Regions from separate parts of the Homo sapiens genome. Here regions 1, 2, 4 and 5 are each linked to region 3. Evidence: promoter capture Hi-C in 16 types of primary human blood cells and fetal thymus (Javierre and others, 2016). All regions are on one chromosome and are shown on one strand. Each heading gives the region's core, a stretch centred on a gene start or on the middle of the fragment in contact. The rest is flanking DNA. Distances are from core to core; before and after follow the strand shown. Region 1 has its middle 160 kb from the start of DIO2-AS1. Region 2 has its middle 24 kb from the start of SEL1L. Region 3 holds the start of TSHR (thyroid stimulating hormone receptor). Region 4 overlaps SEL1L (SEL1L adaptor subunit of SYVN1 ubiquitin ligase). Region 5 overlaps SEL1L (SEL1L adaptor subunit of SYVN1 ubiquitin ligase).

Evidence for each region. Contacts are between HindIII fragments. The CHiCAGO score rates a contact against its expected background, and 5 or more counts as called.
Region 1: a contact is called between a fragment that was not itself captured here and the fragment with the promoter of TSHR in region 3, in 2 of 17 cell types (megakaryocytes and endothelial precursors). The highest score is 8.4, in megakaryocytes.
Region 2: a fragment that was not itself captured here is called in contact with the fragment with the promoter of TSHR in region 3 in 3 of 17 cell types (naive CD8 T cells, total CD4 T cells and activated CD4 T cells); the score reaches 6.4 in naive CD8 T cells.
Region 4: a fragment that was not itself captured here is called in contact with the fragment with the promoter of TSHR in region 3 in 16 of 17 cell types (total CD8 T cells, naive CD4 T cells, total CD4 T cells and 13 more); the score reaches 25.9 in total CD8 T cells.
Region 5: a contact is called between a fragment that was not itself captured here and the fragment with the promoter of TSHR in region 3, in 10 of 17 cell types (total CD8 T cells, naive CD4 T cells, activated CD4 T cells and 7 more). The highest score is 10.4, in total CD8 T cells.

The regions. Positions count from the first base shown.
Region 1 is chr14:80,051,092-80,055,857 of GRCh38, reverse strand. No RefSeq gene overlaps it. Among named protein-coding and RNA genes, the nearest start is that of DIO2-AS1, 160 kb to the left of the region's middle. The HindIII fragment of the contact is 4,862 bases long and covers 1-4,411 here.
Region 2 is chr14:81,555,172-81,560,202 of GRCh38, reverse strand. No RefSeq gene overlaps it. Among named protein-coding and RNA genes, the nearest start is that of SEL1L, 24 kb to the right of the region's middle. The HindIII fragment of the contact is 3,544 bases long and covers 1,078-4,621 here.
Region 3 is chr14:80,953,192-80,958,163 of GRCh38, reverse strand. TSHR (thyroid stimulating hormone receptor) reads right to left here and starts at 2,543. Exons shown (of 10, transcript NM_000369.5): 1 at 2,314-2,543. The coding sequence starts at 2,483. It also overlaps a transcript of CEP128 not described here. The HindIII fragment of the contact is 2,816 bases long and covers 925-3,740 here.
Region 4 is chr14:81,479,031-81,484,107 of GRCh38, reverse strand. It overlaps SEL1L (SEL1L adaptor subunit of SYVN1 ubiquitin ligase), which reads left to right. Exons shown (of 21, transcript NM_005065.6): 20 at 4,368-4,496. Among named protein-coding and RNA genes, the nearest start is that of LINC02308, 31 kb to the right of the region's middle. The HindIII fragment of the contact is 2,719 bases long and covers 1,511-4,229 here.
Region 5 is chr14:81,495,602-81,500,220 of GRCh38, reverse strand. SEL1L (SEL1L adaptor subunit of SYVN1 ubiquitin ligase) reads left to right here. Exons shown (of 21, transcript NM_005065.6): 7 at 559-612; 8 at 703-762; 9 at 1,727-1,808; 10 at 2,175-2,329. Among named protein-coding and RNA genes, the nearest start is that of SEL1L, 36 kb to the left of the region's middle. The HindIII fragment of the contact is 8,034 bases long and covers 1-4,619 here.

The DNA.
Region 1 (4,766 bases), core at 731-3,230, 900 kb after region 3:
GATGGAGAGAGCCTCTGTTGTCACTCGTCCAGTTTTCCCTAAATCATGTTTTATAGATGACTCAACTGATATTGTGAGCTTTATTTGCATTTAGGGAAAAGATAAGTAAAATCAGTTTTGGAGTTTTCATTTTGTTTTTGGTCCACAGTTAGCATACATCCTGTGTTTGTTTGTTCCTGCTTCTGCACCGATTTTCTATGAAAGCGTATATATTTACATTACCCCTTTAGGTCTCAATGACTACATCTATATAATGGTGGGGTCAGTGGTCAGAGGTTGAGAGGTGGTTGATGTTCTGGACTTCTTTTATCTCTGATATGCCCTGAATATTATGATTCACTGACTCATAGAAGAGAATCTAAGAAAATATCCTGGGTTATGTAAGAAACCATTTGAGTCCTGGCCAGCTAAGCAGCAGTTCACACAGAGAGAAATACTCAAAATAGAGATACCAGGCAAGTGACATATTGGTGACCAGAAGGCACTTCCTTTCAGAAGAGAAGGCAATCAGATCATAGCCTTGCACAGAATAAGGATTCCACAAAAAAATTCCCGTGGTTCCTCCATTTTCTTGATCCACTTTCTTTGTGTCTCTATATGTAAGGCAAAGTGGAGAATTAAAGCAATTATTTGGATAATTCAAGCAGAAAAAAACCTCACAACACCCACATATGCTGCAATTATCTAGACATTTCAGGCAGAAGTGAAGCTCAGAACCAAATTATCAGGATAGTGCTTCAATTCTTCTGAAAAACAGCAATGCTAATTGCATGACACATTCAATGTACTATCACAGAGGACTGATGAGAGAGCAAAATTCTTGCTTGACATGCCTAAAAAGAAGAGCATAGAGTAAAAATATTCCACATCAGTTAAAACTTGGTAGAGAAAAGACAAAGGTAGTGAAATGATTAGTGCTAAAATGGGTTTCAAAGTACAAAAGAAGGCGTTAATAAATACGTCCAGGGACATTGAACAACCAGGAGAAATCAAGGCTGCCAATCAGCAGGCGTAGACATGAAATTGAGGATGATTCTAAAATGGCTGAGACACTGAACTCATGCTTCGAATCTGCTTTTAACAGGAAAAATGAAGCAACAAATTTGGACTATTAGGATATAAACGTTGCCAAATAGCTATTGGCAAAAATCAGGTGAGGGAATAGAGAACTTGGAAAACTTGCATAATTATAAATCAGCTAGACAGGCACCTGAGATTATTAAGGAAATTGGAGGATATGTGGTACTTACTAAAGAGATCACACTTTCTTTTGGAAAAAAGAAATCATATAGCTGAAAAGGTAGTAGATATCCTTTAAAAAAATCCCACAAAGTCCTCTTCCTAAAAGATATATTATTATTTTTTGAAATAGCAGTCTTACAAATTTGAGGTTCAAGTAGTAAACAAAAGGTGGATAAAATACTATTTATTTAAATTTAAGTCATGGCTACCTTTATAACAATCATGGAAAAATATAAATACTTAATAACTATGATGATGATGATGGTGATGATGATGATGATGATAAGGAGAACAATAATCAGCAAAGCAAATAAAACAGAACATGAATGACCAGAATGTATTATAATTAAACATTAAAATCCACGAGGCCAATGACTTGCCAAACAATGCCAGAAGAAATTTACAATGTGATGTGATGGAAAGAACATATCGTTATTAGCTGTGTGACCCTGACCAATTTATTTAATCTCTCTATATCAGGCTTGTCCAACCTGCAGCCCACAGGCTCCATGCGGCCCAGGATGGCTTTGAATGAGGTGCAACACAAATTTATAAACTTTCTTAAAACATTATGAGAATTTTTAGTAATCTTTTTTTTTTTTTTTAGCTCATCAGCTACCTTTAGTGTTAGTGTATTTTATGTGTGGCCCAAGACAATTATTCTTCTTCTAATGTGGCAATGTGGCCCAGGGAAGCCAAAAGATTGGACACCCATGAACGATTCTGAAGCATGTAAGACAGAGAAGAGATGGGAAAGGTTATTTGAAGTCCTGGAAATCCCAGGAATCACTTTTAGTTTTAAGATTATTGGTACACAGATAAAATCTATTTAGAATCATAAAATATGAGGCTGAGAAGAACCTTAGATATTATTTAACACACTGCCAGAAGTCCTTCCTCAATATTCTCTACCGGGGTCATCAAACCCTGATTGCTTATCCACCTGTGATAAAGTGCATACTATTTGTCAAGACACTCCATTCCATCTTTGGGCAACTCCACTTACACAAAGCTCTTCTTTTTGACTAGCAAAATCTTTCTGCTTAGCTAAATGCTTTAATCTAACATTTCATCTTCAAATATTTCAGGAGGTTGGTCTAGTAAGTGATTAGTATTCTGTTTTTATTCATAATTGCTACTTCACAAAATAAGCAGTCATTTCTCAATATCATCAAATATCCAAGCAGTGTGTACATTTCCCCAAATATCTTAGAATCTTTTGGTTCAATTCATTGTTAAAATTAGAATCCTTAAAAAGCCTGGCCTATACATTTCAATTAATTAATAATCACTTTGTGTGTGTGTGTGTGTGTGTGTATATATATATATATATATATAATATATAGTTGCTGCTCTTTTTTGTAATTCAGTGAATGAATGAATGAACTACTTAATTTTTGTTGTGGTGTGGAAGAAACCCAGCTGCTTCTAATAGTTTGAATTTTGCTGATTCTATCACTATGGTGCCTGTCCCCTCTATTCCCTATTGATTGGTAATAGATCTGGAGGCTTGAGGCTTTTTACTTTTCTTTAGTGTATAGTTATGATTTCATAGCCTACAGTTCCTTTTGATAGGACCGTAGAAGTCCTTGGTAGCTTCTTAGTCTCTTCGGGCTACTATATCAAATACTCTAAACTGAATAGTTTAAATACAAACATTGATTTCTCACTATTCTGGAGACTGGGAAGTCCAAGTTCAAGGCAACAGCAAATTCAGTCTTTGTTGAGGGGCTGCTCTGTGGTTCGTAGATGCCAACTTCTTGCTGGGTCCTTACATGGTGGAAGTGGGGAGGCAACTTCTCTTGGGACATATAAGGGCACTAATCTCATTAATAAAGATTGCATCTTTATGACCTCATATAATCCTAATTATTTCCCAAAGACCCAACATTTAATGCCATTACCTTTGGGGTTATAATTTCAACATATATTTTGAGCAAACACAAACAGTCAGACTATAGCAGCTTTCTTGCTCCCTGGTATGATAACATGATCTATGCTCAACATTCAGTTTCTGCTCCAGACCTGAAACCTACTATTGTTCCCAAGGAGCCATGATTTCCTCTAGTGGTTGTTAGGGGTTCTCATCACAACTGAGTTTGTCATTGTTTTAGGCTGCTTCTGTGGAAAGAGATAATAAATAATTTTTCTGAATTTGTAGAGCTTTATTGATACATAATGAAAGAATAATATAGACACCCAACTATTTTAAAAATACAATTTAATCAGTTTTGATATATGCAAACACCTGCAAAATCATAATGAACAAAACAAATATTTATACCACTGCCAAAAGTTTCTTCATACTTCTTTGTAATCTGTCCTCCAACTACTCCTATCCCTAAGCAACCATTGACCGGCTTACCATCACCATAAATTAGTTTACATTTTAGAATTTTGTATAAAATATCTCACATTCTCTTTTTTTCATGCTTTCACTTAGCATCATGATTTCAAGATTTATCCATGTTGTGTATATCAATGGTTTATTTTTATTGCTAAGGAGTATTCTTTCATGTGGATATAGCACAAATTGTTTATTTGTTAACATGTTGATGGACATGTGGATATTTCCAATTTGGGACTATTAAAAATAAAGTTACTATAAACATTTGTGCACCAGTCTTGGGGTAGATTATAAGTTTTGTTTCTGTTATGTAAATACTTAGGAGTGGAATGCCTACATCATATGGTAGTGGATCAAATTAAAATTATGTTTAATTTTATAAGAAACTAACAAACTGGTTTCTAAAGTGGTTTTACCATTTTGCATTTTCTACAGAAGTGTTTAGGAGTTCTAGTTGCTCCACTACCTTGTCAACACTTGTTATATTCAGTCACTTCAATTTTAAGCAATCTAACGAGCACATAATTATATCCCATTTTGTTTTCAGTTTGTGTTCCTCTGACTACTAATGATGTTAAGTATCTTTCATGTGAAATTTTGCCATTTGATTATCTTATTTCATAAAGTATCTGTTCAAATCTTTTGCCTGTATTTTTATCAGATTGTATAATTAATTTTTGAATTGTAAGAATTCTTTATATATTATTGATATGAGTCTTTTGTTTGATATTTGTGTTGCAAATATTTGCTCCCATTCTATGGCATACTATCTTGATGGTGCTTTTAGAAGAGCAAATGTTTTAAATGTTGATGAAGTAAGCTTAGTCTATTCTTTAAATTTTATGGTTTATGCTATTTTCTTCTGTCTAAGGAAACTTTACATACTGTAAAGTTGCAAAGATCTTTTTCAATGTTTTCTTCTAGAAGTTTTATAGTTATAGATTTTAAAGTTAGAGCTATAATTGATTTTGTTAAAGCAAACTCATTGTGGCCTGAGAAGAACTCCATACTTCTATATTTGAGTTCTTGTGGATGAACTGTAGCCTAGCCTAATAGTCAGACAAAATTGAAAACCTAACTTAATAGTATGCACCTGTAACAATGGCTGAGTGTTGGCCAATCCCAGTGGCCATACTTCAACCACTCATAGACAGTTGAATGTTCAAATTGTGTTCAA
Region 2 (5,031 bases), core at 1,600-4,099, 600 kb before region 3:
GGTTTGTTGGGTGTTGGCTATTAATTTATAAGAGTTTCAGCCCATGTTTGTATTTAACAAGTCTTTTTTTAACACAAAAAAGAAATAACTTTTATAACCCTCAATATCTTCTTTGATCCACACTGCTGTGATGCAAGGTGTCAGTACTGATTGCCCTGACCTCAGCAAAAGGGGATCCACCCTAGACTCTATATTTTAGGGGACATGCACTTCTGCAAGTGCCACAAATGCACTCTGGCTCGGTGTGACCTGCAACCTAAACCTAACTCATAACCAACACCAGCCAGGGTTGGGAAAGGATTCTACATTTCTTTCCAAAGACCTTGAAACAGAAGGCAATTGTGTCTAGAAGTCTTGAAAGGCTTTGTATTGCTGATATGGTTTGGATCTGTGTCTCTACCCAAATCTCATGTTGAAATGTAATTCCCAGTGCTGGAGGTGGGGCCTGGTGGGAGGTTACCGGATCCTGGCAGCGGTTTCTCATGTTTAGCACCATCCCCCTAGTGCTGTTCTCATGATAGAGTTCTCTCGGGATCCAGCTGCTTAAAAGTGTGTAGCACTTCCCCTCACTCTCTTCCTCCTCCAGCCATGTAAGATGTGCATGCTTCCTCTTGGCCTTCTGCCATGATTGTAAGTTTCCTGAGGCCCCCCAGAAGCTGAGGAGAGGCCAGCATCATGCTTCCTGTACAGACTGTGGAACTGTAAGCCAATTAAATCTCTTTCCTCTATAAATTACCCAGCCTCACATATTTATAGCAGTGTGAGAATGGACTAATAGAATTGCTCTGATGCCAATGTCAGAGGTAGACACTGCTTCAGTAAGAGACAACACAAATTGATTTATTTCTCTTAGAGAACAGAAATGTAATGGATTTTCTCAAAATATACTATCATTTCCCAGTAGTGCCAAACATCCATTTTTTTATTCACTTAATACTCCAAGTTACAGTTCTAGAGATTCTCACAACTTCCATGATGTTCACAGCAGTTGCATAATGGCAATAAAATATTTTGCAATATTAAACAATTCATATTACTCTTAATAGAAATAGGTCTAGACACAACAAGTATAAAGCTTGACATTGACTCTTTACATTGGTAACTGGAGAGACAATGAATCTTGGAATTGTAAATCACTGTAGTTTTATAAAAATATTTAATGTGATTTAATTAAATTTTCAAAAAATTAAGTAGAAATATTTTAACTTCATTTTAATCTTTTTTATTTAAAATGTTTTTATTAATTAAAAGGTATACCCTCCTTTAATTTTAGCATATAATTTTTGATATTTCCAAAGAAATATAATTTTCTAAAATATATATATTTTATTACAATTTTTTATTTTCAAATTTACTTCCACTTACATTTTAAATAAAAGTGTGTCTAAATTACATACACTTTGAGTTTTATTGTTTAATGCTTTGGATCATTGAGATCATGTTAGAAATAAAATATACAAAAGTGGAACTCAGAAAGAAAATGAGCTAACCAGAAAATAAGTAGAAGTTCCTCAAAGAGGCAGATTGCATACGTATTTTAAAACTGGAAACAAGGGAAATGAGCAAATGTCTGGCAAGTATGCCCCACAGAAAAGTCCTGACCAAGATATTACGTATTCTCTATTTAATGAAGACTTAATTGCGATTAAAAAATTAAAATTAGCAAATTATTCTTATCAATTCACAGTCTGCACAGGTCATATGAAATGCCTACAACCTCATATTCTTCACCAAATGAAGATGTAATTACATGTCACAAAATGTTATTTGCACATAGAAAAAGTACAATGCAATTTCTGAAACAAAAGGATGAATAAAGAATAATTGATCATATTCAATAAAGATAAGGAAATGCCACCTCAGAACCTTACTCTGATGTTCTGAAAAGGATGACACTACGTACCCAAAATTTGCTATGCATAATGATGCTTTCTGTGTCAGTAAAAGCACAATATCTAGGTTTAGTAGAAATTGTTTCACATTTTGATGCTAAAATGAACAAAAATATAATGAAGCAAATGATCACTCTCAAGGTTAGAAAATTCAAAATGAAGCTCTTAATTTAATGAGTAATAAGGTGAGGAAAAAAACATATGTAATTTTTAAAAAGATACTATTGGCTGGGCACAATGGCGCATGCCTGTAATAACAGAACTTTGGGAGGCTGAGGCAGGTGATCTCTTGAGCCCAGGAGTTTGAGACCAGCCTGGGCAATATGGTGAAACCTTCTCTCTACAAAAAATACCAAAATTAGCCAGGTGTGGTGGTGCATGCCTGTGGTCCCAGCTACTCAGGAGGCTGAGATGGGAGAATCATCTGAGCCAGGGAGGTCCAGGCTGCAGTGAGCTGTGATCACAACACTGCGCTCCAGCCTGGCGGACAAAGGGAGTCCCTGTCTAAATAAATAAATAAATAAATAAATAAAATTAAAGATACTATTATTCAGTTCAACTAGGTTGTAACAGGGTCAAAATGTTGATGAAGTAATATTCACTATATGTGTTGTTGAACTACCAGAAAAGGAAACAAGTCAAAACGCAACAGTATTCCACTGGTTGACATCAGTTGTGAAAATAGGTTTAGACTTTACTGAAAAGCTGAGAAAATAATTTTCAATTTTAGGCATTGATTTAAGAGATTGATGAGGGCAAACTTCATGGCTTACCTAATCTCACTAACATGGTCGGCAAAGAATAAGGTGATTAAGCCAGAATGTTTACCAAAAATCCAGAAGCATTTCTTTGTGCTACATATGCACAGAGTTGGAATTTATTACTGGGAGAAATGAGCTCATCTGCACCCATGGCAACACTATTCTTTGGAACAATTCAGAGATAAAATTCAGTATCTCCTGGGTCAGCCCAAAAATGAACTAGCATGATGAAACACATATGAAATTGGACCCTACACCATCATTTGACACATAATGGGAATTTGGACCACATGTTAGAACAATTAGGATCCACTAGGAGAGTGTGGCAAAATAACATTCCCAAATGAGTGAATAATCACCAAAAATGAAATTAATTTTGAGTTTGTGCCATCCACATTTATTTAGTATAATCTATTGCTTAATTTTAACTTTTAAAAACTAACAAAACAAAACAGATCTAGTTTGATACTTTGTTAAAGGCATTAAACTATATATACACATATATAGTTTACTTTTAGAAATTGTTTTCTTAATTGAAAAAATTGGCATAAAATATGCAACAAAGGTTATGCTTAGATAAAGTATAAAGAGTTGTTTAAAAGAAGGCCAAGCATGGTTGCTCATACCTGTAATTCCAGTGCTTTGGGATACCAAGCCATAAGAACTCTTGAGAACAAGAGTTTGAGACCAGACTGGGCAATACGGTAAGACCTTGTCTCCACAAAAAAAAAAAAAAAAAAAGGTGGAGGGGGGTGTTGGGGAGAGAACTTTTGTTTTAAAGCTGATAGAATATATTCATTTTCAAAGTCCTTTAAAAAATTCCTTACATACATTAGTGAGTGGTAAGCATAGCATGTGGTTCAAGGTGAACTCCATCCAGCAGACAATCTAAGATCAAAGGCTCAGTCATTGGCTTACACAATTTAAGGCAGCTACGCATTTTACTTTTCCTCCTTCAGTGGGGAGAGAACTTTTAAAAAGGGAATTATAAAGTTTTTATGACAATGAAAAAAGATTCATGTATAAATAATTCTGAAATTTCAGAAAGGCAAATCACAAATCGAAGTATATTATTAATTGAAGAGAGATTTTAACAAATTGAGTATCAAACTGCTATTTTCAAGTTATCTTCATAATACCATAGTGTTGAATAATTTAAAAGAAGAAAATACTTATTGCAACAGGACTATTCAAAAAAACAAAAAAAGAAAAAATATTGAATGGATCTAGACATTAAGAGACAATTACAGTTGTGATATAAAAATAGTAATTTAGATGAGTTAAAATATGTAGTAGTATTTTCTATGATAAAAATAGTTTATCACACAAAATCCCATGACAATGTTTGAACATGTTAGTAATATTTGTGGTTCATTTTTTAATTTAAGTAATGTCTGAAGAACTTTATTGGCAGTTTTAATCATTACAGCCTCGGCAGAGAGGTTTCCCAGGTTGGAATTTTAAAACCATATAATAATTTCAATGACTCAAGAAAGATTATGTAATTTGGCATTACCATCAAGAGAACAGAAATTTTGTGGAAATCTTGATTAAACAGCATAATTGGAGATACTGCTGACGTTAGGCAAGAAAAATAAAAATTTTAGAATAAATGTACAATTTGCAAATTACATATGTCTTTAATTTATGACTCACCCAAACATGCCCAACACATCAAGGGAACACCCAGGCATGTGCAACAATAATTACAGTCAGTTGTCTTTGATATTTGCCGATTTTCAGTAATATAAGACTATATAACTTTGTACATTTTTTTGTGAAGGTGTATTGTTTTGGCAGGTAGATAGGACATAATTTAACAGTTTGTTTGCTTAATTTATAACTTTCAATTTGTAAGAGCCATGGTATATAGGCCTCCATTTGTACTCATGCCCTGGGCCCTGCCAGGTGTGTGCCAGGTGTGTCTCTTGGTGGAGGACACAATGCTCAGCATCACTAATGAAAGCTTCTTTTTTGTTCCTTTTTTGCTATTTTGTATTTAGCTTGATGCAAGTGTGTAGTCTCTTTGCAAAGCAATAGGCTTCGAAGAATATTTGTACATGTTAATGGGTCCAAACATTATTTTTTCATGTGACTGTTACCACAATTAATAAATCAATTATGGAATGACTGTAAAACACAACAACAGCTGGAGACACAGACTCCACACTGAGATTCAAACGTGATAGAACAGGCTTCCATAAAGTGACTTCCTTCTAGATTTCAGAAAGGTGGAAAAAAGGTACTTGACAGTGGAGAAGCCTGCCAGACACTACCTCAGCCAGGTGCTCAAGGTCAACATCCACAGTGACAAGCCGTGTTGGCAGTATGTTTCCTTGATACGATGTGGTAGGAATGGCACTTCACCTCTGTGGTGT
Region 3 (4,972 bases), core at 1,294-3,793:
TATAATTGTTAGCTTTACATGTTTTACTTCTCTCATATGCTTTTCTTCAACAAAGAGTTCTACCGCCCCCAAAAGATTTAAAAATCATTTTTCTACTGTTGCAGATGGTAGTAGCCATTGTTCAAAGGAGACTACCATTTTGTTTTACCCACACTTTTTATCAGGTTTCTCTTTTCGATCTCAGAATAACTTTATTCTTCAGGACATACTACCTCCCTCTCCATTATTCTCAAGGGCAGATCCTCCTTGCCACTGTCTTTATGTCTTTTTCTTGTGATTCAGTGCCTTCCCTCAGACTATTCTCATCAGCATCATGTCATCACCTAGAAAGCACCTAGTTGAACATTCTCTTTTACCCAGAAGGAAATTTGGCTCCTTCCAAATCAGTCATCTTACACAATTTCATGGTTAGTAAAGAAGGGCTAAAGAGAATGCTGGTTTCCTGACTCCTGTTCCATTGCTCATTCTCCATTACCCTTTCTTTCTCAACTTTTGGTGGAATTTTAAACAGGATGTCTACGAGTTCCTTTTCACTGTCAGAGCCACATCTCTCTTCAATGACTTGAATTTCTGCCACTGTTAAAGAAGTCTCTGAAGAAGTGATGTCTTTGGATTTCTTTCTCCCCAACATAGAGTGGACATTCAGAGACCTGGCATATTCATTTGTTTATTTATTCACTTAAGTTTTTTTTTTTTTGTTTTTTCTGAGTGTCTAAGTAGTTCCAGGGTTTCAGGAATTCGGGGTTGAATGGCAGTTCCCTATGTTAGAGAAGCTTGTGTCCTGCTTGAGTGGGCATGCAAATAAATAACAAGTTACAAGAAAGTAGACAATGTCTAAGGGCTAGGGTTAGGTTCATGCAGAGAACGCTGTTGGGAAGGGGGGTATAGCTTACCCAGCCTGAAGGTCATGGGTCAGGAGAAGCTTCCTGCAGGGTTGATCCAGGATCTGGATCTGGGAGTAGGCATTAGCTGGGTGAAGAAATGGGTGAAATGTGCTTCAGGCAGAGGGGCCAGAAAGTGGGAAGAAAGGCAAGGGCAGCTGTAACAGCAGGGACCTTTGGGGAAGTGCCAGAAGTTCTCAGCAGGAGGGGGAAGTTAGAGAAATGAGGAGCAATGAGGTTGGAAAGACTTGACTAGGTCTTGAAAGATCTGGTAGGCTGCACAAAAGAATTTTATTCTAGAGGTGACAAGCAACCTATGTAGAGGTGTAATCAAGAGGCCATTACACCTTTTACACATCTTATTCTGTGGTGGCAGCATGGAGAATGACTACCACACTGTTTGGAGGTTATTGAACTAATTAATTCAGGTGTGCTAAGACACTAGGATATCTCTGAGCACAGAAATATATCTCTGTGCTCAAATATTCATCTACTGTTAAATAGTCTTCATGAGCTAAATTCTTGAGAAAATCTAGAGGTGCAACTTTCCCATTTCTTTTCATCTATCAACATTTTCTTTAATAACCTGCATTTTTTTTTATCTTAACTGGATTTAACCAGCCTAGGTTGTTTTACTGTCCTTTCTTTCTGTTCTCTTTTTAACTAATCAAGACAGACTTTATTCCCTTGGTTTTGTCTACAATTTCAATGATCACTGATTTAAATTGCTGTTAAGAAACAGGTTGTGTGTGTATAATCTTATTTAACATCAGGTTTCTAATCTGGTAACATTTAACATGCAGATAAATGTACTATACTTTTATGAAATTTCATTTCTTTATACCTCTATCACAAAGCAGGGTTCTGGACGTACTATTTCACTGGCAGTTCACATTTGAGTAAGTAACTTACAGATACTGTATAGACAGTTCATTTTAAAAAGGGCCCCTGCTTAAACCTTTGTCAACAATTTGATGAATCAGCAGAACTGCTAAGATAACCTCCCATCTAGAGAAACAAAAAGGAGAAATACATATTTTTGCAATTTTTTATTACCCAAGGTAAGATCAAAAAGGTCAGTTCCTGAGATGCCATTATCCTTATTAATTCAAATAAAACAGATTCAACCAGGGTTAGGCAAAGTGCTGAATAGCAGCTTGTTGGAAAGAACAGCTCTCACGGTCATTGTACACCAAAGTTTTGTAACATTTTCCTGTGTTGGGAATGAGGATGTCAACAATGATACCTTCCCAAGTGTGGGCGATTAAGTTTTTAGCACACACACACATCTACACACACAGACATTCACTCACACATACACACACTCACACACTACTTCGGGCTGTTATTGAGCTGCTTTTGTGCACTTCGGGCCACCTCTGCAGATGCCCTTGATCTCTGGGTCCTACCCTGATCTCTCCCGGGTACTCACAGAGTCTGCGTACTGGGCGGTAAGCTGGGGATGCGTTGAATATCCTTGCAGGTGACTCTGAAGTCCTCCTCCTGATGGCACTCGCAGGGTGGAGACGAACACCCCATTCCGCCCAGGTCCCTGGGCAGGTCGAGCAGCAGCACCAGCTGCAGCAAGTCCGCCGGCCTCATTTTCCACGGGACTCGGGGCTATTTCTCCATCCTCCGAAATCGCCTCATTCTCAGCTCTGCACCTCGGGTTACCCCAGGCCAAAGGAGACCCGGGAGCGGGAGGGGTGGGAAGAGGGAGGGCTCCAAGGGGCTGTGACCTCACCACTGTGGAGGAGGCTGGAGAAGGGGAAAAAGAGGCACTTAAGTGCTCCGCTTCCCTAGGCAACCTTGACCCAAACAAGTCTGCTTGCTTCACTTTCCTTGGCTGGACCCACGCAGTCCGCTCCGTCTGTTCCCTGACACCCAACACCAGTCCTGGCTGTCCCCTCTGTTTTCCAGCCCGCCCCCCCACCCCGGGCGCCCCTCCCATTAGTTCTCTCCAAAGCCTAGTTTAGATGCCCCCTCCTTTCCTCCTCTTTAAATCCAAGGAGCCACCTTCCCTAGCGTGTAGCCTTCTAGACACCCTGTCTGCCTGGGAGCCACTCGCACGCACTCCTTATCCAGAGAAAGTCCCCGCGGAGTGGACTGTCCGCGGGCGGACCAATGTCCTGCAGAACTTCAGCTCCTCCTGGCCAGAGACACCTCTGCTGAGGGTCAGAGGCGGGCACGCAGCCCTGGCTAGCCCGCGGTGCGGCCGAAGCCGTCGCCCTGCACCCCTGGAGGATTCTCGTTGCTATCCAACTGCAGGGGCCACTCCGGTGGTTGAGTCGACTGGCAGCGGCCGCCTCACGTTGCAGCCCGCGGCTCCGCGAGGCAATTCAGGAACTGAACTTTGGGGCCATCTGCTGGGAAGAATCGGGAATGGCAGAAATAATTCCAGGTTCCCTTAATAATGGGTCCAGTATGGAAATTCTGGTCGACCCAAGAATTTCATTGAGTCATATTCCCCCTGGAAGATGGGAAGAAAAATAATACTTAAGTGGCATACTCACCATTCTTCGCACAGTAGCCAAAAAGATCATTACAAACATAAATCAGATTGTGCCTATTTCCTTCTTAAAAGTCTTCAATCACTTATTCCTCTTGGGATAAAAGGAATGTCAATTCCTTCTATACTGCATAATTCCTTTTATATGAACTTGGCTAGGACAGGAAGGAAAAAGTTGTGGTTATGGGAATCAGAATAAAGGTTAGGAAAGATTGACTAGAAAAAGACAGGAGGGAACACACAGGGTTTCCATATCGTAATTAGGCTGGAGGTTAAGTGGATGTATACATTTATCAAAATTCATTAAACCGTACATTTAAAATATGTGTATTCCAAATTTTACAGAAGCTTTATTCATAACCACTAAACGAACCAAGTGTCTCGCGACTAGATAATGGATAAACAAACTCTGATACCTCCACATTGGAATACTATTCTGCAATAAAAATGAATGAACTGCTGATACAACATGCACAAATTTTCTTTTCTTTTTTTTTTTCTTTTGAAACGGAGTCTTGCTCCGTCGCCCAGGCTGGAGTGCAATGGCGCGATCTCGGCTCACTGCAACCTTTGCCTCCGAGGTTCAAGCAATTCTGCTGCCTCAGCCTCCCGAGTAGCTGGGACTACAGGCGCCCGCCACCACGCCCGGCTAATTTTTTCGTAATTTTAGTAGAGACGGGGTTTCACTGTGTTAGTCAGGCTGGTCTCGATCTCCTGACCTCGTGATCCGCCCGCCTCGGCCTCCCAAAGTGCTGGGATTACAGGCTTGAGCCACCGCACCCGGGCTTTTGTTGTTGTTTTTTTAAAAATTACCATGGTATTGTTATGGAACAAATCTTGAATGCATAATGTTAAGTGAAAAAAGCCAAACTCAAAATATTACGTATTTATATGTAATTATTCATATTAATGATTCATTTATATAGCTTTCTCAAAAAGGCAAAACCATAGGGACAGGAAAAAGATCAGCGGTTGCAAAGGCCTAGGGTAGGGCTGACTACAAATGAACACCAGAGAATTTTGTGGGTAATAAAACTGTTTTAAATCTTGTTCGTGGTGATGGTTCCATGGTAGTTTATTAATGTGGTGAATCATAGTGATCGATTTTCGAATGTTAAACCCACCTTGAATTGCAGGGATAAATCTCACTTGATCATGATGTATTTATCCTTTTTTTGTTTGTTTGTTTGAGACGGAGTCTCGCCCTGTCGCCCAGGCTGGAGTGCAATGGCACGATCTTGGCTCACTGCAACCTCCGCCTCCCGGGCTCAAGGGATTCTCCTGCCTCAGCCTCCAGAGTAGCTGGGATTACAGGCGCCCGCCACCACGCCCGGTTAATTTTTTGTGTCTTTAGTGGAGACGGGGTTTCACCATGTTGGCCAGGCTGGTCTGGAACTCCTGATCTCGTGATCCGCCCGCCCCAGCCTCCCAAAGTGCTGGGATTACAGGCATGCACCACCGTGCCCGGCCGTGTTTATCATCTTTTTAATATACTCCTTCATTGGATTTGCTAAAATTCTGTTTAAAAGTTTTACATAGACGTTCACAAGGGATAGTAGTCTGTTATTTTCTTTTCTGTAAC
Region 4 (5,077 bases), core at 1,621-4,120, 530 kb before region 3:
TGGGACTGATTTGTAATATTTCAGAAGACTGCCCTTCCATCTCTCATCTTCCAGCACGCACAGATACTGCTATCCACGCTGTTTTATTTAGGGATTAAGCTGAAGACAGACTCATGAAAATGGAAGTGCAGTGCTTCCTCTGCTGATAACTACTTGTTTGAGAAACTATCTGTCCATCGTCAGCCAAATTCTATTTTTTTCAAATTATTTTGAAATGAATTAAATGTATTCTACTGATAAATTTATTTCTGATTCTTACACTTGCCTAATGAAGTCTGTCATTCTCTGGACTCATGACTTAAGGTTTTTCCTGTGTGCCCTCAAAAGAATTTGGAAAAACTACAGACCCCCTTGTACATTTTTAAGTTGGCATTTAAATTTTTTCTTAAGTTTCAAAGGGTCTAAGTTCCAGCTATTTTAAGCATTAACATTTTTAAATAAAATTAATTACCCTTAAAATATCCAATAGAATCTAAATAACAATAATTTAATACCCACTTACCATTATTAATTTTTTAGAAATATACAAGCAAGTTTTTTAATTGAAAGCTAGGTCTTTTCCTGTTTCCCTAAATTTATGTTTTCTACCACGACTTCTGTAGAATGTAATACTAATGTATTGTTTTTAATGCTTAGGTCTTTTATTGATTACTGTATCATACTTACCTGAAACAAACAAGTGTATAAATTCATTTTGAATTTTATTACCAGTGATCTAAGTGTTAAGAAAAATTCATGAGATATTACTAGTCACAGTTGGTCAGTTAATGCATTGTTGATCAAATCTACAAAATACATTTTGATAAAACTTTGCTTTTTGTATTATTAATTGAAAATGCATCTTTTAATGAGATAAATGGAGTATTTGTTAAAAATTGAGATTTCACATTAATTCTGTTTTTCATTTTTTTAAATGTATGACTAGAATGTCATGTATGTGAAAATGGGAAGAATTTCACTATAGCATGGTCACTTAATTCTTCAAACTACCTTAAGAGTTAGATGCCAAAAATCAGAGTGACTTGTCATTAGAAATTATTTTTAATGATCAATCTCCTGACTACTTGATAGGTCCCTCTTCAGTTGTGTTGAAAGCAAAGAATTGGAAACCAGAGACTTGTGAAAGCATGCATTCCCTGACACTGGGACCTTTCACTTTTCTTATTTTCTAGGAAGAGTACAAAAGGCTTTACCAAGACTTATGAAATAGGCTGTTAATTATACTCCTTCCTGTGTCACTTAGAGGCCCTTTGTTGACCTAAGGATTGAGGGAAAGTTGTTCATTTTTGCTAATGCGGTATTTTCTTGACAAAATGCTGCTGCTTTGTTCACATTTGGACATTTTCTTTTAATTTCAGTATGTAAATATTTATATTTTAAACTTACCTTAATACTTAGAATATTACTAATATTAGATACTTAAATATAGTTCAGTCAAGGCTCAGGAGCAGCAAACTCAGTACATTCAACTTCTGGAAGATCTCTGCCACTTAATGTAGTAACTGAAGCTTCTCTTTATTGTCAAACCAGTCATCCAGTGTCCCAAATTAGACTTAGCTTCTATCAGAAAGGCTGACGGATTTTTGTCGTTTTTTTTAAATGGAGATGGGGTACCACTATGTTGCTTAGGCTTGTCTCAAACCCCTGGGGACTTAAGCGCCTTGGCCTCCAAAAGTGCTGGGATTGCAGGTATGAGCCCCTGCACCCAGCTGACTTTATTTTTAATTCAAGTGAAGTTTAACATGACTAATATAAAGATCACATGTAAGTTATGGCTTTCATGGAGTACATCTAGTAATAATTTACTGACTGTAGTCAAAATTAAAATGATATAACTAATCTGTTTTTATAATAGCTTATAAAACAAGAAAATGTGTTCTAATTTAATTTGTAATACACTGTATAGCTAATAATAGAAATTCTTGTGAATAAAGAATATGATAAAAGGCATAGTACTCCTTTGATAAGAGTAGGGGGAGGGAACTTTTGTTTAGCTTTTGAGAATAAATAATCATTTATGAAAATAAATAATCATGTATGAAAATCAGTAACTCCATTACTTTTTTTTTTTTTCGGTGAGATGGAGTCTCACTCTGTTGCCCAGGCTGGAGTGCAGTGGCACAATCTTGGCTCTCTGCAACCTCCGCCCTCTGGGTTCAAGCGATTCTCCTGCCTCAGCCTCCCGAGTAGCTGGGATTACAGGCGCCTGCCACCACGCCCGGCTAATTTTTGTATTTTTAGTAGAGACGGGGTTTCACCATCTTGGCCAGGCTGGTCTTGAACTCCTGACCTCATGAGCCACCTGCCTCGGTCTCCCAAAGTGCTGGGATTACAGGCGTGAGCCACTGCACGCGGTCCCATTACTTTTTTTATAAGACATCGTGATCACCTTTTCTACTTTTTTTCTTTTGAGGTTTAAAATATTCATGCTACTAAAAACAATCCCCCATTTAATATAGTTAGGAAAATATTAAATATGAGGATTGACTATAATTGGAAAAAATCATCATATTATTTGATAAGTTTTAATTACATACTAGTGAATCTATTTAATTACCCTAGTGAATCATCCAATGTATGAATCACATGAAGTTTGATCCATGATCTTGAAAAATATAGCAGTCGAAAAAACCATTTGAGTTATATTTTTCTAAAAACTCAGACACTAACCATACTGTTAGCATTATTTGAAGATGCTCTTCTTTTTAAATAATGACACACCCTAAGGACAAGAATAAGGAATAGCTGAAAATAACTGCTTGTATTTAAATATGTTTGGAGGGGGAGTCATTTTTGGTCTTTAACCTTTCTTCCTCATATCTCATGGAATTCTTTCTTAAGAGTTTGGTATTCTTTGATAATAGGGAGTAGAAGTGAGATTTTTAAGTGAAAATTCCCACCATCCCATTCTATTACATATCTGAATTCAGAACACTCCAGCCTGGGCCAAAATTAAGAATGCCTGGTTTCACCCTTTACAGAAATATATCTAACACAGGGAAACACAAGATGCCCTAATAAGGGTTTATAATTAGTCAATAAAGGAGCCTTCTCCAGAACCAGTATTTCAAGGTATCTCTTCCGGTGGTAGCCCCTGAGGTTTCTACACCCCAGGGCAATGCACTTGAGGAAAGAGTGGGGTAGATCTCTTCCGGTGGTAGCCCCTGAGGTTTTTACACCCCAAGACAATGCACTGGAGGAAAGAGTGGGGTAGATAAGGGCTGTGCCTTCCTTTAGCAAAGCGAAGCAGAGAAACGTTGCTGTGCATACAGGCCTATTCTCAGCAGATCCCTTTCAGGAAAAAGCACATATGGAAGCTGCAGAACTGCAGAATCGAGTCCCTTAACATGTCCATGCAAGTACCTCTTGTAAAATCTGTTTCTTTTTTTGGAAACAGGGTCTCACTCTGTCACCCAGGCTAGAGTTCAGTGGCACCATCTCAGCTCACTGCAACCTCTGCCTCCTGGGTTCAAGCAGTCCTCCCACTCAGCCTCCCAAGTAGCTGGGACTACAGGCAGGCGCCACCACACCCAGCTAATTTGGCTTATTTTTTGTAGAGACAGTTTATGTTGCCCAGGTTGGTCTTGAACTCCTGGCCTCAAGTGATCCTCCTGCCTCGCTCTCCCAAAGTGTTGGGATTATAAGAATGAGCCCACTTTGGGAGGCTGAGGCGGGCGGATTACGAGGTCAGGAGATCGAGACCATCCTGGCGAACACGGTGAAACCCCGTCTCTACTAAAAATACAAAAAATTAGCCGGGCGAGGTGGCAGGCACCTGTAGTCCCAGCTACTCGGGAAGCTGAGGCAGGAGAATGGCGTGAACCCTGGGGGGCGGAGCCTGCAGTGAGCCGAGATCGCGCCACTGCACTCCAGCCTGGGTGACAGCAAGACTCTGTCTCAAAAAAAAAATAAAAAAGAATGAGCCACCGTGCCTGTCATCTGTTGTAAAATCTTGAGTGTTTCTACCCCACTTTGAAGATCACTGTCCAGAACTGAAACCAGACGTTGCTAATACTGATTGAAGTTTTAAGTAGCAAAAAATTAGTGTGAGTTTCAGAAGTCGCCCTTGGAAATCTCTAGGTTAACAGTGTTAATGCATAGATATATGGCTGTATGCAGCATATCTACACAGCAAATTAGATGTTATGTTGGGGGAAAATGAGTTTTTTAATTAAGTTTTTCAATATTAAGCAGTTAGATAATTAAACGAATTTTACCCAAGTAAAGCTTGGCATTTTTGTTTAGGTGAGGGAAACTCATTTTAAAATGAAAACCTCAAAGGTAAAATAAATTCGTCTAATATGTTCACTAAATATTTTTACTTATTTTGACAAGAAATGCATTTTTGTTTCTTACCTGTATTATAGGATATTCACCTTGCGAAACGTTTTTATGACATGGCAGCTGAAGCCAGCCCAGATGCACAAGTTCCAGTCTTCCTAGCCCTCTGCAAATTGGGCGTCGTCTATTTCTTGCAGTACATACGGGAAACAAACGTAAGTGGTCCGTACCTCTTTTCATTAAAATATAAATGATGGAAGGTCTGTCCTGGAGGTTTGTTTTTCAAAAGTTGAGAAGCACAGGGAAGAGTGGTCCTGCAGGTATCGGGTGTGTTCCCTTCTCCTCAGCTCAGGTACCCGAGGACCTTATCAGGGGAGGGATAAATGCAGGCATAAAGCAGCTACTGCAGTTTTTAGGTAGCGTTTGACACTTCCTGACGCTAAAGCATTTTTCATGGAGGCAGATGTTTTCTGGTTTAGGGAAAACTGAGACTAACTCATGGCAGTTTGAAACAGTATTTAATTCAGTAAACATTAAATCAGATGACTCAAACCAGTCCCTTAAAAAGAAAAGGAAAAAAAAAAGAAGAATCTGAGAACCTCCCCAGGTTGTTGTACTTCAGATTCTTCCGATAGTGAAGCATTAAGTTGAAAACACCACCCAAATTTTCTTCTCTAAAAATAGCGTGAATTATTTAAATAGGCTAATGGAAGAACCTATATAGGAAGTGGGTTACCCATTTTCTTCAAAATTACCAACTTTAGTTGGCAATACTGGTATGTAGGTACTCTTGGGT
Region 5 (4,619 bases), core at 1,312-3,811, 540 kb before region 3:
ATTTAATTGTGGCCGGGTACAGTGGCTTACCCCTGTAATCTCAGCAGTTTGGGAGGCTGAGGCGGGTGGATCACTTGAGGTCAATAGTTCAAGACCAGCCTGGCTGACATGGTGAAACCCTGTCTCTACCAAAAAGTACAAAAACTAGCTGGGCGTGGTGGCATACGCCTCTACATAGTCCCAGCTACTTGGGAGGCTGAGGTGGGAGAACCACTTGAACCCAGTGGGCGAAGGTTGCAGTGAGCCAGGATCGTGCCATTGCACTCCAGCCTGGATGACAGAGTGATACCCTGTCTCAAAAAAAAAAAAAAAAAAAAGCCACAAATAAATAAAATTTTTTTTAAAATAATGCTACATTTAATTTAATTGTGTAATGTGTAAAACTCTGAATGCTTTTCCAAGGCTCTTTAATCCATGTTTGTACATACTTGAATTCAAATCTTTTAGCATTTAAAGACTCTTGCATTTTTTCATAGTATATAAAACTGTGTCTGTCTGTGTCTGTCTTGGATAAACCTTCACCAAAGCAAGATTTCTTACTTTTATCATCTATTTCAGGCTCTTGGCTTTCTGTATGCCTCTGGACTTGGTGTTAATTCAAGTCAGGCAAAGGTAATACTATTAAAACTTTATTGCATATTACAATTTGAATTGAATAAATGCGTGCCTATGTTCAGTTAAACATGTTTTGTTCTTTCACAGGCTCTTGTATATTATACATTTGGAGCTCTTGGGGGCAATCTAATAGCCCACATGGTTTTGGTAAGTAGACTTTAGTGGAAGGCTAATAATATTAACATCAGAAGAATTTGTGGTTTATAGCGGCCACAACTTTTTCAGCTTTCATGATCCAGATTTGCTTGTATTAAGACCAAATATTCAGTTGAACTTCCTTCAAATTCTTGTTAATGGATATAACACATGGAATCTACATGTAAATGAAAGTTGGTGGAGTCCACAATTTTTCTTTAAAATGATTAGTTTGGCTGATTGCCCCTAAAAAGAGAGATCTGATAAATGGCTCTTTTTAAATTTTCTCTGAGTTGGAATTGTCAGAATCATTTTTTACATTAGATTATCATAATTTTAAAAATTTTTCTTTAGTTTTTCAAAATTTTGTAAATGGTGGCTATAGAAAAACAACATGAAATATTATACAATATTTTGCAACAATGCCCTAAGAATTGTTAAAATTCATGGAGTTATTTGTGCAGAATGACTCCAGAGAGCTCTACTTTCTGTTTTTTACTTTTCATGATTGGCTGTCTTCCCATTTATTCTGGTCATTTATTGCTAGTGACACTGTGCCTGCTTCCAGTAGTCTCATTTTCCCTATTTTGCTAATTTGTTACTTTTTCTTTGCTAATTTGGAAGATTAACTCATTTTTAATAAAATTATGTCTAAGATTAAAACTGGTTCTAAGCAAAAGCCCTTATAATTTTTCTCTTATGAGTAAAATGCACACACTTCAAAAATAAAGTTTATGACATCTATTTTGATTGCTCTAGGAACTATATTATTTATTTCCTTGCTCTTAGCTATGGCCTTCTTGTTGAAGTTGCTGAATCCATTACCTCAAAACCTAACACTTAGCATAAATAAGGTGTTAGTGTACTTGGATCAAATGACAGCAAAATTCTGGGTATGCTTAGCTTTATTTGTTCCACGAAGAATGACACTGAAGTACATGAAACTGCTGCCTCCTCACGTGAAGTTGTTTTACAGGGTTACAGATACTGGGCTGGCATCGGCGTCCTCCAGAGTTGTGAATCTGCCCTGACTCACTATCGTCTTGTTGCCAATCATGGTATCTATGTTTCCCCTTTTACCTTTTAGGAAAAAAAAATAAATGGAATTAACTTTAAACATTTCTATTTTTATTGTTCTATTTGAAGTATTATAAATGGCTCTTTTATGTGGACTCATCTTTAAACTAGTTGAGGTTCAGAAGTACTTTTTTCTTTATATAATTTTGCTTTAGGTTCTATTTACGTTGTGAAAAAAGTTCAATTTATTAATAGATTACTGATTTGCGATCTATATAGACTACTGTAAAAACAGCTTCCTTTAACAATGTGTTCGTCAACGTTTGGCAGCTGGAATTGTACTTCTCTCTCTCTGGAACAATTCTTCTGATTTTCCTCCACCTTATTGTTTTATCCCTCTATTTCAGTTGCTAGTGATATCTCGCTAACAGGAGGCTCAGTAGTACAGAGAATACGGCTGCCTGATGAAGTGGAAAATCCAGGAATGAACAGTGGAATGCTAGAAGAAGATTTGATTCAATATTACCAGTTCCTAGCTGAAAAAGGTGATGTACAAGCACAGGTACGTGTTTGAACATCTCACCAAATATCTTTACTGCATTGTATATTTTAATCTGTGGGGGACGGGAGCAAGCACTTATATCTGTAAGTTACATTTTCATTGCCCTGAGCAATTATGAACTACATATTAGAATCACCTGAGCCCCTTAAAAAAAAAAACCAAGAGTCTCACACTCTCAGGAGATTCCATTTGGGTTAGTGTGGGATGGGGCCTAGGCATTGAGGGTTCCTAAAACTGTCCAGGTGACTCTCCCGTGTACTGCCCCTAAAAAAATCACTGCTTGAACAGAGCAGCATTAACACCGATGATGAAGGCTGTTACTGGAGTCACCAATGATGAAAACTGTCACTTTCTCTAAACAAGAAGTCCCTGGAATATTTGCAATATCAGATGCTCTTCAGAGCTATTTACCATTCGTGTTTCTTTGGCTCATCTAAAATCATAATTTCTTCAAGGTCAAGAACAGAAGTAAGCTCGTTTAATGGAAGTTGTATAATGTCCGTCAAAGTACCATGTGTGCACACACAGGTTTCGTGGCTTCTTTTGATATTAAAATAAAAAGAACTTTAACATTTATATTTTTTTCCACTAAGTTTGCAATTATTTCTAATTTAGGACATGTACAGATGAGCATTAGATACTTATTAAGAACAGTTGGTTTTAAGACTAGCAGTGGAGTCTTAAGGAAAAAAAAACGTAGTGAAACGTAGATCTAAATGTTAGCTGATAGAAATTATAATAAACTTGTTCAATTAAACATCTTATTTTTACATTATTGTAAAATTTAGTTTACTTAAAATTTTCTGTTTTACTTGCTTTCTGTGTATCTTGCTTGTTGTGTTTACTCTTCTCTCCTTTCTTGCCCTTTTTTGGTTGAGTGCTTTTTCCTGTTGCATCTCTTCCCCTCTGCCAGCATGATGCTACTCTTGTAGTGGTTATCTAGCGATCACAACATGCATCCTTGACTTACCAAAGTCTGGTACGATGAGCACTTTTACCATTTCCAGGACAGCACAGAGATCTCAGAGTATTCTGTGTGTGTTTGATTTTATATATTTTGGTACCATGAGATACTGTTGTTTTGTACAGTCCATATTAATTTACATTTATTTTCAAATTTACCTTTTCATTGCTTTTTATTTATTTTTTTATTTTTTATTTTTTGAGACAGATCCTTGCTCTGTTGCCCAGTGCCACTATCTCAGCTCGCTGCAACCTCCGCTTCCCGGGTTCAAGCGATTCTTGTGCCTTAACCTCCCCAAGTAGCTGGGAATGCAGGCATGCACCACCACACCCAGCTAATTTTTGTATTTTTAGTGGAGATGGAGTTTCACCATGTTGGCCAGGCTGATCTTGAACTCCTGGTCTAAGTGATCCCACCCACCTCAGCCTCCCAAAGGCTGGGATTACAGGCATTAGCCACCACACCTAGCCAGCTCTTTATTTCTTACTGTATCTCCCAGCTTCTAGTAAGTTTCCTTTTTTCTGAAGAGCACCCATTTGTGTTTCCTTTAGAGCAGGTTCACTGGGGACAAATTCAGTTTTTTTTTTGTTTTTGTTTTTGTTTTTTGAGACGGAGTCTCGCTCTCGCCCAGGCTGGAGTGCAGTGGTGCAATCTCGGCTCACTGCAAGCCCCGCCTCCCAGGTTCATGCCATTCTCCTGCCTCAGCCTCCCGAGTAGCTGGGACTACAGGCACCCGCTACCATGCCCGGCTAATTTTTTTGTATTTTTAGTAGAGACAGGGTTTCACCATGTTATCCAGGATGGTCTCAATCTCCTGACCTCGTGATCTGCCCGCCTCGGCCTCCCAAAGTGCTGGGATTACAGGCGTGAGGCACCGCGCCCGGCCCAAATTCAGTTTTAATTTATGTGAAAATGCCTTTATTTCACTTCCACTTTAGCAGGATACTTTGTGTTTTTGTTTTTTGTTTTGTTTATTCATTTGTTTGTTTTTTAAGACAAAGTCTTGCTCTGTCACCCAGGATGGAGTGCAGTGGCACGATCTCGGCACACCTTAACCTCTGCCTCCCAGGTTCAAGCAATTCTCCTGCCTCACCTACCAAGTATTTGGGATTACAGATGTCCATCACCACACCCAGCTAATTTTTGTATTTTTAGTAGAGATGGGATTTCACCATGTTAGCCAGGCTGGTCTTGAACTCCTGACCTTAGATGATCCACCCACCTCAGCTTCCAAAAGTGCTGGGATTACAGGCATGAGCCCATCGTGCCTAGCCCGTTTTTTGTTTTTTTGAGAAAACATCTCTCTCTGTCGCCCAGGCTGGAGTG